Regions from separate parts of the Homo sapiens genome. Here regions 2 and 3 are each linked to region 1. Evidence: promoter capture Hi-C in human tissues and cell types (Jung and others, 2019). All regions are on one chromosome and are shown on one strand. The core of a region is centred on a gene start or on the middle of the fragment in contact, and the rest is flanking DNA. Distances in the headings are between cores, read along the strand shown. Region 1 holds the start of TST (thiosulfate sulfurtransferase). Region 2 has its middle 8.9 kb from the start of RAC2. Region 3 has its middle 11 kb from the start of NCF4-AS1.

Evidence for each region. Contacts are between HindIII fragments. The study calls those that stand out against the background at their distance.
Region 2: a fragment that was not itself captured here is called in contact with the fragment with the promoter of TST in region 1 in 1 of the 25 tissues and cell types used here (lymphoblastoid cells).
Region 3: a fragment that was not itself captured here is called in contact with the fragment with the promoter of TST in region 1 in 1 of the 25 tissues and cell types used here (spleen).

Annotation. Positions count from the first base shown.
Region 1 is chr22:37,017,991-37,021,252 of GRCh38, forward strand. TST (thiosulfate sulfurtransferase) reads right to left here and starts at 1,457. Exons shown (of 3, transcript NM_003312.6): 1 at 1,410-1,457; 2 at 148-763. The coding sequence starts at 742. MPST (mercaptopyruvate sulfurtransferase) reads left to right here and starts at 1,752. Exons shown (of 3, transcript NM_021126.8): 1 at 1,752-1,882. The coding sequence starts at 1,847. RefSeq lists enhancers at 1-975, 1,004-1,505 and silencers at 979-1,038, 1,199-1,588, 1,619-1,738, 1,749-2,068. The HindIII fragment of the contact is 8,246 bases long and covers 1-3,262 here.
Region 2 is chr22:37,251,501-37,254,762 of GRCh38, forward strand. No RefSeq gene overlaps it. Among named protein-coding and RNA genes, the nearest start is that of RAC2, 8.9 kb to the left of the region's middle. RefSeq lists an enhancer at 1,807-2,308. The HindIII fragment of the contact is 6,144 bases long and covers 1-3,262 here.
Region 3 is chr22:36,879,923-36,883,184 of GRCh38, forward strand. No RefSeq gene overlaps it. Among named protein-coding and RNA genes, the nearest start is that of NCF4-AS1, 11 kb to the left of the region's middle. The HindIII fragment of the contact is 9,229 bases long and covers 1-3,262 here.

The DNA.
Region 1 (3,262 bases), core at 207-2,706:
TTCTGGTTTTATCGATGGAAAGACTGAGGCCTACATGGGAGGATTGAAGGCATGGGACGGACCCTGGAGAGGGTCCCAGTCATCCTTACTCCCTATCCTTCCATGGGGCAATACTCCCCAGGGACCACCCAGCACTGGGACACCTACCTACTGCATCCGGCTCCGGCTCGGTGCCCAGGAACCGCCCTTGAGACCTTGAATCCACCAGCTGGAACCTCTTAGATTCAAGGTTCTCCAGCACCTGCTCGTAGGTCTTGAGCAGGGAGCGGTCCAGTGTGGCTTTGAAGACGGCCGGTTCTGGGCGTGAGGGCTCGGATGTCACCGGGTGGCCCTCCTTCAGCCAGTTCCGGAAGCCACCATTGAGCACTGATACGGTGCGGTGGCCAAACACACGGAACATCCACCAGACCCGGGGAGCATAGAAGCTGCCCAGGTGTTCACCATCATACACCACCACGTGCGTGTGGTTGCTGATGCCCAGGCGGCCCACATACTCGGCGAAGCCAGCCTCGCTGGGCAGCATCATCTCGTAGGGCGACGCCGTGTCCCGGCACTCTTCTATGTCAAAGAAAGAGGCGCCGGGTACGTGGCGCTCGAGGTACTCCTTGCGGGCCTCTCGGGTGCCTGGTGAGTACCAGGACGCGTCCAGCACCCGCAGGCCGGGCCCCAGCTTGCCAGTCCTGATGGACTCCGCCAGCCACTTGGTGGAGACCAGCGCCCGGTAGAGCACCTGATGAACCATGGCTTCAGCTCTGCGTGTCACCTGGCACGGGTGGGAACCAGGAAAGAGAGACAGGCGTGAGGAAGGAAGTCGGTGTGTGCAGTAGGGTGAGGCCTGGGAGAAGCTCTTTCTCCCTCCGCACTCCCCCGGGTTCCTTGTTTACAGCAAGCCAGCGAGGCTGGGGCGTGCAGCGGGATAAGTTTGCAGATTCCCTCTGGAAAGCCGGCCCCGCCCCTCCCAGCCGGCCCGGGGGCCCAGCGCAGAAGCGGGTGGGGCAAGAGTTTCCGAGGACTCCAAGTAGGGGCGCTTCCTGGGGCGGGGATCTGGCTCCTAGAAGTTACAGTACTCGATCCCGCCAGGAAAGAGCAATGAAAGCATGCCCGGGATGGGGGGCGATGGCATCTTGGGCTTAGAATCCCCTTTCCTTCCAAGGCAGAGGGGGTGGGCGCACGGCTAGGAAGCTCCGCGAGCCGCGCACACGCCATCGCCTGCGGCCTCCCCAGGCAGCCCGAGCTCGCCCGCCTCCAGAGTGCCCGAGTCCGGCCCGTAGCTCGCTGCCCTCTGCCCTAGGTGGATCAGGGGTTCCCGGGGCACCCCGTCCCACTCTCGCAACGCTATCCTTCCCCGGGCAGCAGGTGGCCCGACCGGCGGCCCAGGCGCCCGGCCGCTGCCCCCGCCCCGCACTCACTCGCCCCGGACGCCGCGCTGGCGCTCGCCCCGGCCGGCTGGAGAAGTTGGCCGGTTCAAACCCCCGGCCGCAGCTCCCCAGGCGGCGCGCACCATCGCGCCACCGCCAGAGGGGGACCCTGCGCCGCCCGCCGCCATCCCGCGCCTCCCCCGCGCGGCCGCTTCGCGCCCGGCACCTGCCAACCTCGCGCGCGGGGCCTCCGGGACCCGCGGGGGTCTGAGGGGGACGCCGGGTGGCGCGGGGGCCGCGCGGGCCTGGGCTGGGCGGAGCGGGCGTACCCCCACGGCCCGGCCAGTGGAAGGCGCGGGCAGCAGCGGCTCCGAGTGGCCGCGGCGGTGGGCTGTGCCGGAGTCTCCTCCCTTTGGTCCGCTGCAGGTTGGTGGCGGGAGGAGGGGACAGCTGCGGGCGCGGGGAGGGGGCGCCGCGCCGCGGGGGCCATGGCGGAGCCAGGAAGCCGGGAGTCCGAGACCCGGGTAACTGCCGCGGCGTGGCGGCTTGCCTTTCTGGAGGGGGAGGGAGTGGCTCTTTGGGGGTGCTCGGCGCGGGGCTCCCGCGCGGGACCTGGGCGGAAGAGGGGGCTTAGTCTAGGAGAGAAGGCGCGCCGCTACGTTGGCACTAAGGGTGACTGTCCGCTTGGGGCGGCCTGCCGGGTGGGGTCGTGGCGAGTGGCGGGTGGGGAGCCTTGGGTGGAAGTGGGTGACCTGGTGGCACCAGAGAGGGCGGGGGAGAGAGAGGAGGACAGGGAGACGAGACCCCGCTGACCCAGAGGCCCCAGGAAGAGACACTAGCCAATAACTTGTTAGTGAGTGAAAGGAACTAACATTGTCCAGCCCTGCTTGGTGTGGCACTTTGCTGGGTACTCCCGTGGTGTGACTTAATTCCCACAATAACCCTGAGGAGTAGGCCAGAAACTTACTAAGACAGGAGAGAGCGGCAGAGCGAGTTGCTGGAGGACACACCCAGAGTTGAGGCCGGGCCTGATCCCTGGTCTGAAGCCCACGTGGTACCAGCTGCCTTTGTTTACCTGGCTCTTCCCTGAAGGTTCATGCTTTTTAAAAAATTGCCTGTTTTGAACTTAGCCCGTTTAATCATAAGTTGATGTAATTCAATTTTTAATAATAGCTGTATTTAACAACCAGTTGGCAAAATTCCTGAAAAGCTCGCCATGGGCTCTTGCAAACTGGGGGACACCATTGCCCCTCCCTAGCTTTTGCAGAGGCCAGCCTGGAAGCTTTCCCTGTTTCCCAACCCTGACCTTTTGTTTTGTTTTGTTTTTTGAGACAGGCTGTGGTTCTGTGGCCCAGACTGGAGTGCAGTGGCGCCATCTCAGCTCACTGCAACCTCCGCCTCCCAGGCTCAAGCGATCCTCCCACCTTAGCCTCCCAAGTAGGTGGGACCACAGGCATGTGCCACCATTCCCGGCTAATTTTTAAATTTTTGGTAGAGATGGGGTTTCACCATGTTGTCCAGGCTGGTCTTGAACTCCTGGGCTCAAGTGATCTGCCCATCTCAGCCTCCCAAAGTGCTGAGATTACAGGCATGAGCCACCATCCCTGGCCTCATCCCTCTTTTTAAAAAAAGGTTTTGTTCTAAAATGCTCACAGCAATCCTCAAAGCCTAGTGTCTGGTGGTTGGGGGAGGGGGTGGGCAGGAGGGACCAGGCTGGGGAGGTCCAAGAGGAGCTCCCAAGCTCTGCTCCTCAAGGGGTACCCTGGATCCAGCCTGCGGCTCACGCTTGCTTCAGTGCAGCTGTGTATCCTTCTGACATGAGCCTGGGGCGGTTACGTCCTGGGGTCCTCCACTCCCAGGGCACCCTCACCTACAGTGATCCCGGCTTCTGAATCACACAGGCA
Region 2 (3,262 bases), core at 546-3,045, 230 kb after region 1:
GGCCTCGTGGTGGAAGGCAAAGTGGAAACAGACATCTTCCATGGCAAGAACAGGACCAAGGGGGTGAGAGGTGCCACACACTTTCAAACAACCAGATCTCACAAAAACTCACTCACTATACAGTACCCAAGAAGGATGGTGCTAAACCATTCATGCAAACTCCGCCCCCATGATCCAATCACCTCCCACCAGGCCCTACTTCCACTGTTGGGGATTACAATTTGACATGAGATTTAGATGGGGACACAGATCCAAATCATATCACATGTCAAGAGTCTATAAGTGCATGAGTCTTTTCCTAGCCTCTCCATCTATTGGACTCTTGGTCCACCCTCAAGCCGGTAAAACACTGCCTCAATTACTGCAGTTCTTTTTTTTTTTTTTTTTTGAGACGGAGTTTCACTCCTGTTGCCCAGACTGGAGTGCGACGGCACCATCTCGGCTCACTGCATCCTCCACCTCCCAGGTTCAAGTGATTCTCCTGCCTCAGCATCCAAATAGCTGAGATTACAGGCGCCTGCCACCACATGTAGCTAATTTTGTATTTTTAGTAGAGACAGGGTTTCACATGTTGGCCAAGCTGGTCTTGAACTCCTGACCTCAGGTGATCTGCCCGCCTTGACCTCCCAAAGTGCTGGTATGACTTACAGGCGTGAGCCACTGCACCCAGCCAACTACTGAAGTTCTATATCAGATCTTTATACCCAGCAGAGCAAATCATCCACTCTTGAATGTTTTCAAAATTGTTATCGTTACCACTGACACTTTGCTCTTTCATATAAAGTTCATAATAAGCTTGTCAAGTTCCAAGAAAAACTGTGTGAGGATTCTGATTAGAATTGTATTCAATTTCTAGAGGAACTTGGGGAGAAGTGACATCTTTATATATTGAGTCTTCCTGTCCATTAACATGGTATATTGCTTCTTTATATCTTTCAATTAAGTTTTATAATTTCCCCCCGGAAAGGTCATGCACATTTTTTGAAAGATTCATTCCTTGATACCTTATTACTTTCAGTGCCATTATAACTAATATTTTTTAAATTGAATTTTCTATTTGTTGCCCATACGTAGGGAAAATGTCACATTTTGTATATTGAACTTATATAGAAACCTGGATGGAAATTCTCATTCTAATTTATGTAAAGATTTTGCTCCTAACAAGTCTACAGCTGTCTTTATAGACAGTCTTATCATTTATGAAAAGTGACAGTTTTATTTCTTCCTTCCCAATTTTTATAACGTTAATTCCTTGGCTTGTCTAGATCTTTTATTACAGGGCTGAAGGGAATCAGTGCTGGCAGGCAACCTTGTCTTATTTCTGATTTTAAAGAGACTGTTTCTAATGTTTCACCATTGAACCTGATGTCTACTGCAGGCTTTTGGTGGATATTATTGTCACTGAAAGAAGTTTCCCTACTATTCTTAGAAACGGCAGTTTTGTTTTATCATTATTAAGCGTTTAATTTGATTGAATGTCTTTTTCTGTACCCATGGAAATGTTGTGAATTATATTAATACATTTTCTGATGTCCAATTCTCCTTGCATTCCCAGATAAGTCTAATTTAGTTAATATGGGGACTATTGCTGAGTATCCCTAAGCAACCGTTCTCTGCTTCTTTTTAATAACAGAGATCCCAGCATTGGGGCTAGCCACACATTCACCCAGCTAAAGACATTTCTCAGTCTCCCTTGCAGCAGAGTGGGCCCTATGATCATGTCTGGGGGAAAAAGGTGCAAATGGAAGTGATGTCAGCAACTTCTGCATCATCTCCTTGGAAGCTAAACCATTTATCCTGTACAGCATTTTCCCCTCTCCCCACGGAGTAGGAAATAAAAACGCCAGAACAATCCTGGAACCATGTGGGGGCAACATAGAGCCAGACCACTCAGCTCGAGACCTGAGAGAGAAATACACTTTTGCTTCTTTAAGCCACTGCGTTTTCAGATCTTTTTGTTACAGCAGCTTCAGTCACACCCTCACTCAGTCAGTCATGATGCATCGCCTTTTGTGTATTGCTGGCTTGAAATTGCCAATATTTACAGGTAGGGTGGGGAGATCGGCCGGTCATTTTCCTTATATTGTCTTTGTCTTTTTTTGTTGTTGTTGTTATCAAGGTTATACTAGTTTCATTATGAGAGTTGGTAATATTATGTTTTGTTTTTTTTTTTGAGATGGAGTCTTGCTTTGTCACCCAGGTGGAGTGCAGTGGCACGATCTCGGCTCACTGCAACCTCCACCTCCCAGGTTCACACCATTCTCCATTCTCCTGCCCCAGTCTCCCGAGTTGCTGGGATTACAGGCGCCCACCACCACGCCTGGCTAATTTTTTGTATTTTTAGTAGAGACAGGGTTTCACCGTGTTAGCCAGGATGGTCTCGATCTCCTGACCTCGTGATCTGCCCGCCTCGGCCTCCCAAAGTGCTGGGATTACAGGCGTGAGCCACCGCGCCCAGCCAGTTTGGATAATATTACATTATCTCTCCCTTAAATATTTTATAAAATTTATAAAGCCATCTGTATCTGGACCTGGTTTCAGAATTATGGGGGAGAGGGGGAAGAGGGGTAGATTTTAAACTACTAATTCAATTTCTTTAAGGGGTATAGGACTATTTGGAATTCCTTTTTTTTTTTTTTTTTTTTGAGACAGAGTCTTACTCTGTCACCTAGGCTGGAGTGCAGTGGTGTGATCTCAGCTCTCTGCCACCTCCACCTCCTGGGTTCCAGTGATTCTCATGCCTCAGCCTCGCAAGTAGCTGGGACTACAGGCAGGCACCACTAGGCCCGGCTAATTTTTTATTTTTAGTAGAGATGAGGTTTCACCATATTGGTCAAGATGGTCTCCTGAGCTCAAGCAATCTGCCCACCTTGACCTCCCAAAGTGCTGGGATTATAGGCATGAACCACCGCGCCCGGCCACTATTACTTCTTGAGTCATGCTTTAGATATTTTTCTGGAAAGTTGCCCATTTTGCTTGGGTTTTCAAATTCATTAGTGTAAAGCTATTCATAGTATTATTTTATATCTTTTGAATCTCTCCTCTCTAATTTCTGTTATCTCCCTTTTTTTATCCTATATTGATTATTTATGCCTTCAAACTTTGTTCTTAATCAATTGCTCCCCAGTTTCATTAATTTTACTCACCTTTTCAAAGAGCCAAATTTTGGTCTTGTTAATCCTTTCTACTATACATTTGTTTCCCATTTAATTAATTTCTATTCTTATCTTTATTGTTTCTTTTCTTTCTTTTGCTTTGTTCT
Region 3 (3,262 bases), core at 510-3,009, 140 kb before region 1:
GTGGCAGACTTGAAATCATTCCCTAAACCACATACAGATCCATCAGCAAAACACGCTAGCTCAAGAGGCTGAAGCATAACCTCTGACCAAGCAATGGCTGAACAATAAGCTAATCTGACACAGAGGGGATTCTTAGGAAGGCAGGCTTAAAAATAAAATTACACTCATTTCCTGGTGGTCTGGAAGACTGCGTGCACGCCCAGGCCGATCACTCTCAGGAGTGACTGGAGAAAGAAACGCTGGGCTATCAGTTTCTGACTGAACATGGGGCAAGTTTGAACCCTGTACTGTAAAAGATGTCTTCAAACCACATTCACGGCCAAAAGTAAGGGGTGAAACCAATCTAATTGAGGGGGCTTCAGCACAACTTTTCACCAATAGGTGGTTTATGCAGACCCAGGTGCAACCTCTAGGAAACCAGGATAAGAGAGAAAAAAAAAAAAAAAAACACAAGAGGAAAAAATACGAGCGGGGGCATCATAAGCTACACATTGTAGGGGAAACGGCCCTCACAAAATTAGTTCAGTGAAGCCACTAAACAAGTAAACAGATAACAAACCAAATAACAAAAACATTAAGCCCTAGAGGGAATAGGAGAGCAGCATCTAGAGTTGCTTCAAAATATAATCTAAAATGTTCAGTTCCTGATATGGTTTGGATCTGTGTCCCTGCCCAAATCTAATGTCTAATTATAATCCCCAGGTTGAAAGTGGACCCTTATGGGAGGTGGTTGGATCATGGGGGTGGATTCTCATAAATAGTTTAGTGCCATTCCCTCCGTGCTGTTCTTGCGATGGTGAGTGAGATCTGGCCATTTAAAAGTATGTGGCACCTCCTCTTTCTCTCTCTCTTCCCCTGCTCTTGCCATTTAAAACTTGCCCGCTTCCCCTTCATCTTCCACCATCATTGTAAGGTTTCCTGAGGCCTCCTCAGAAGCAGAAGCCACTAGGCTTCTTGTATAGCCTGTAGAACCAAGAGCTAACTAAACCTCTTTTCCTTATAAATTATGCAGTCTCAGGTGTTTTTTTGTTTTTTTGTTTGTTTTTTGTTGTTGTTGTTGTTGTTGTTGTTGTTTTGAGACTGAGTCTTGCTCTTGTTGTCCAGGCTGGAGTGCAGTGGCATGATCTCGGCTCACTGCAACCTCTGCCTCCCAGGTTCAAGTGATTCCCCTGCCTCAGCCTCCTGCGTAGCTGGGATTACAGGCACCCCCAACCTTGCCCAGCTAATTTTTGTACTTTCAGTAGAGATGGGGTTTTGCCATGCTGGCCAGGCTAGTCGCGAACTCCTGACCTCAGGTGATCCACCTGCCTCGGCTTCCCAGAGTGCTGAGATTACAGTCATGAACCACTGCACCCAGCTGGTATTTCTTTATAGCAGTGCAAGAACAGGCAAATATAGTTCCCAACAAAAAATTATAAGAATTGCAAAGACACAGCAAAGTGTAATCCATACACAGGAGGCAAATAAAAGCAGGCAAAGGAAACTAAAAAAATTGCCTTTGAGGGAAGGATTCAGATGCTGGACTTAGCAAACAATGACTTTATATTAGGAATATGTTTAAATAACTAAAGGAAACCATGTTTAAAGAATTAAAAGAAAGTATTGTAACAATGACTCTTCAAATAGAGAATATCAATACAAAGACATAAATAATTTTTTAAAAGAGAACCAAATTGAAATTCTAGAGTTGAAAAGAACAATAACTGAAATGAAAAGTCCACTAGAAAGGCTCAGCAGTAGATTTGAGTTGGCAAAAGAATGTTAGCAGAGAAAGTATAAGCAAACTGAGAGATAGATCAATAGAGATGATGCAATCTTAAGAAAGAAATAAAGAAAAAGGAGTGAAGAAAAATGAGCAGAGCATCAGAGAAATGTGGGACCCATGAAGTGTACCAACATATGCATAATGAGATTACCAGAAAGAGAGGAGAGAAGGAGACAGAAAAAGGATGAAAAGAAATAATGATTGGAAACTTTCCAATTTTTATTTTTTAAAAAACCACCAATCTACATATCCAAAAAGCTCAACAAACTCCAAGTAGTAAAATACAAAGAAAGCCACACTTAAACACATCATAGTCAAAATGTTGAAAGCCAGACATAAAGAGAAAATCTTGAAAGCAGAAAGAGAAAAATGACTCACCGCATAAAAGGGAACTACATTAAGACTAACAGCTGATTTCCTGTCAACCAAGAATCTTACATAAAACAAATCTACCACTCAAAAATGAAGGTGAAATTAAAACATTCCAAAATAAGCAAAAACTGAGAATATTCATTGTTAAGCAGACTTGCCATTACAAAAAAATATTAAAGGAAGTTCACTCTAATGGCTTCATTTTAACTTGATTAGCTCTGTAAAGACTCTATTTTTTTTTTTTTTTTTTTGAGATGGCGTTTCACTCTTGTTACCCAGACTGGAGTGCAATGGTGTGATCTCAGCTCACTGCAACCTCTGCCTCCTGGGTTCCAGCAATTCCCCTGCCTCAGCCTCCTGAGTAGCTGGGATTACAGGCGTGCACCACCACGCCTGGTTAATTTTGTATTTTTAGTAGAGATGGGGTTTCTCCATGTTGGTCAGGCTGGTCTTCAACTCCCGACCTCAGGTGATCCACATGCCCCAGCCTCCCAAAGTGCTGGGATTATAGGTGTGAGCCACTGCACCCAGCTAAGACTCTATCTCATGTAAGATCACTGCATTCTGAGATACTGGGGTTAGAAATTCAACATATCTTTTGGGGGAGAATACAATTTGAACCACAACAGTACACTAGAAAATATCCATTTAAGAAAAATTTTAAAAGACCTTGCAAGGTGTGATCTCCCAAACCCAGTTATTTGGCTTCTAGTTTGTTGCCTGACCACATTCACCAAGAAAATTTTCTGCCACAAAACAACCAGACCTCAGCTAGGACACAGGCTTTGAGGAATTATGAGCCTCACAAGAAGCAAAGGAGTTCTCCAATGATTCTTCCACTCCCCACCAAAAAAACTATGATAGGAGCTGAAACCAGAATACAGAGCAGTTGGGGTGTTGTTTTCTGGAGTGCAGAGGCAGTCCAGAAGGCAGAGCCATGGGGAGGCCATGAGATAGGGAGGCTGCGCCAGGGGCTTCCGTGCCAGGCCAAGGCCCTAGATGTGAGAGCTGAGGTGATCTGGAGAGAGTGGCATTCCTGGCTTCAAGCAGAAGCGGAAGAGGGTCTCCTCTGGAGTAAAGTATTTCCAGTTTAGGCTGGCAGGAGTTACCCTGATTAATATCAAG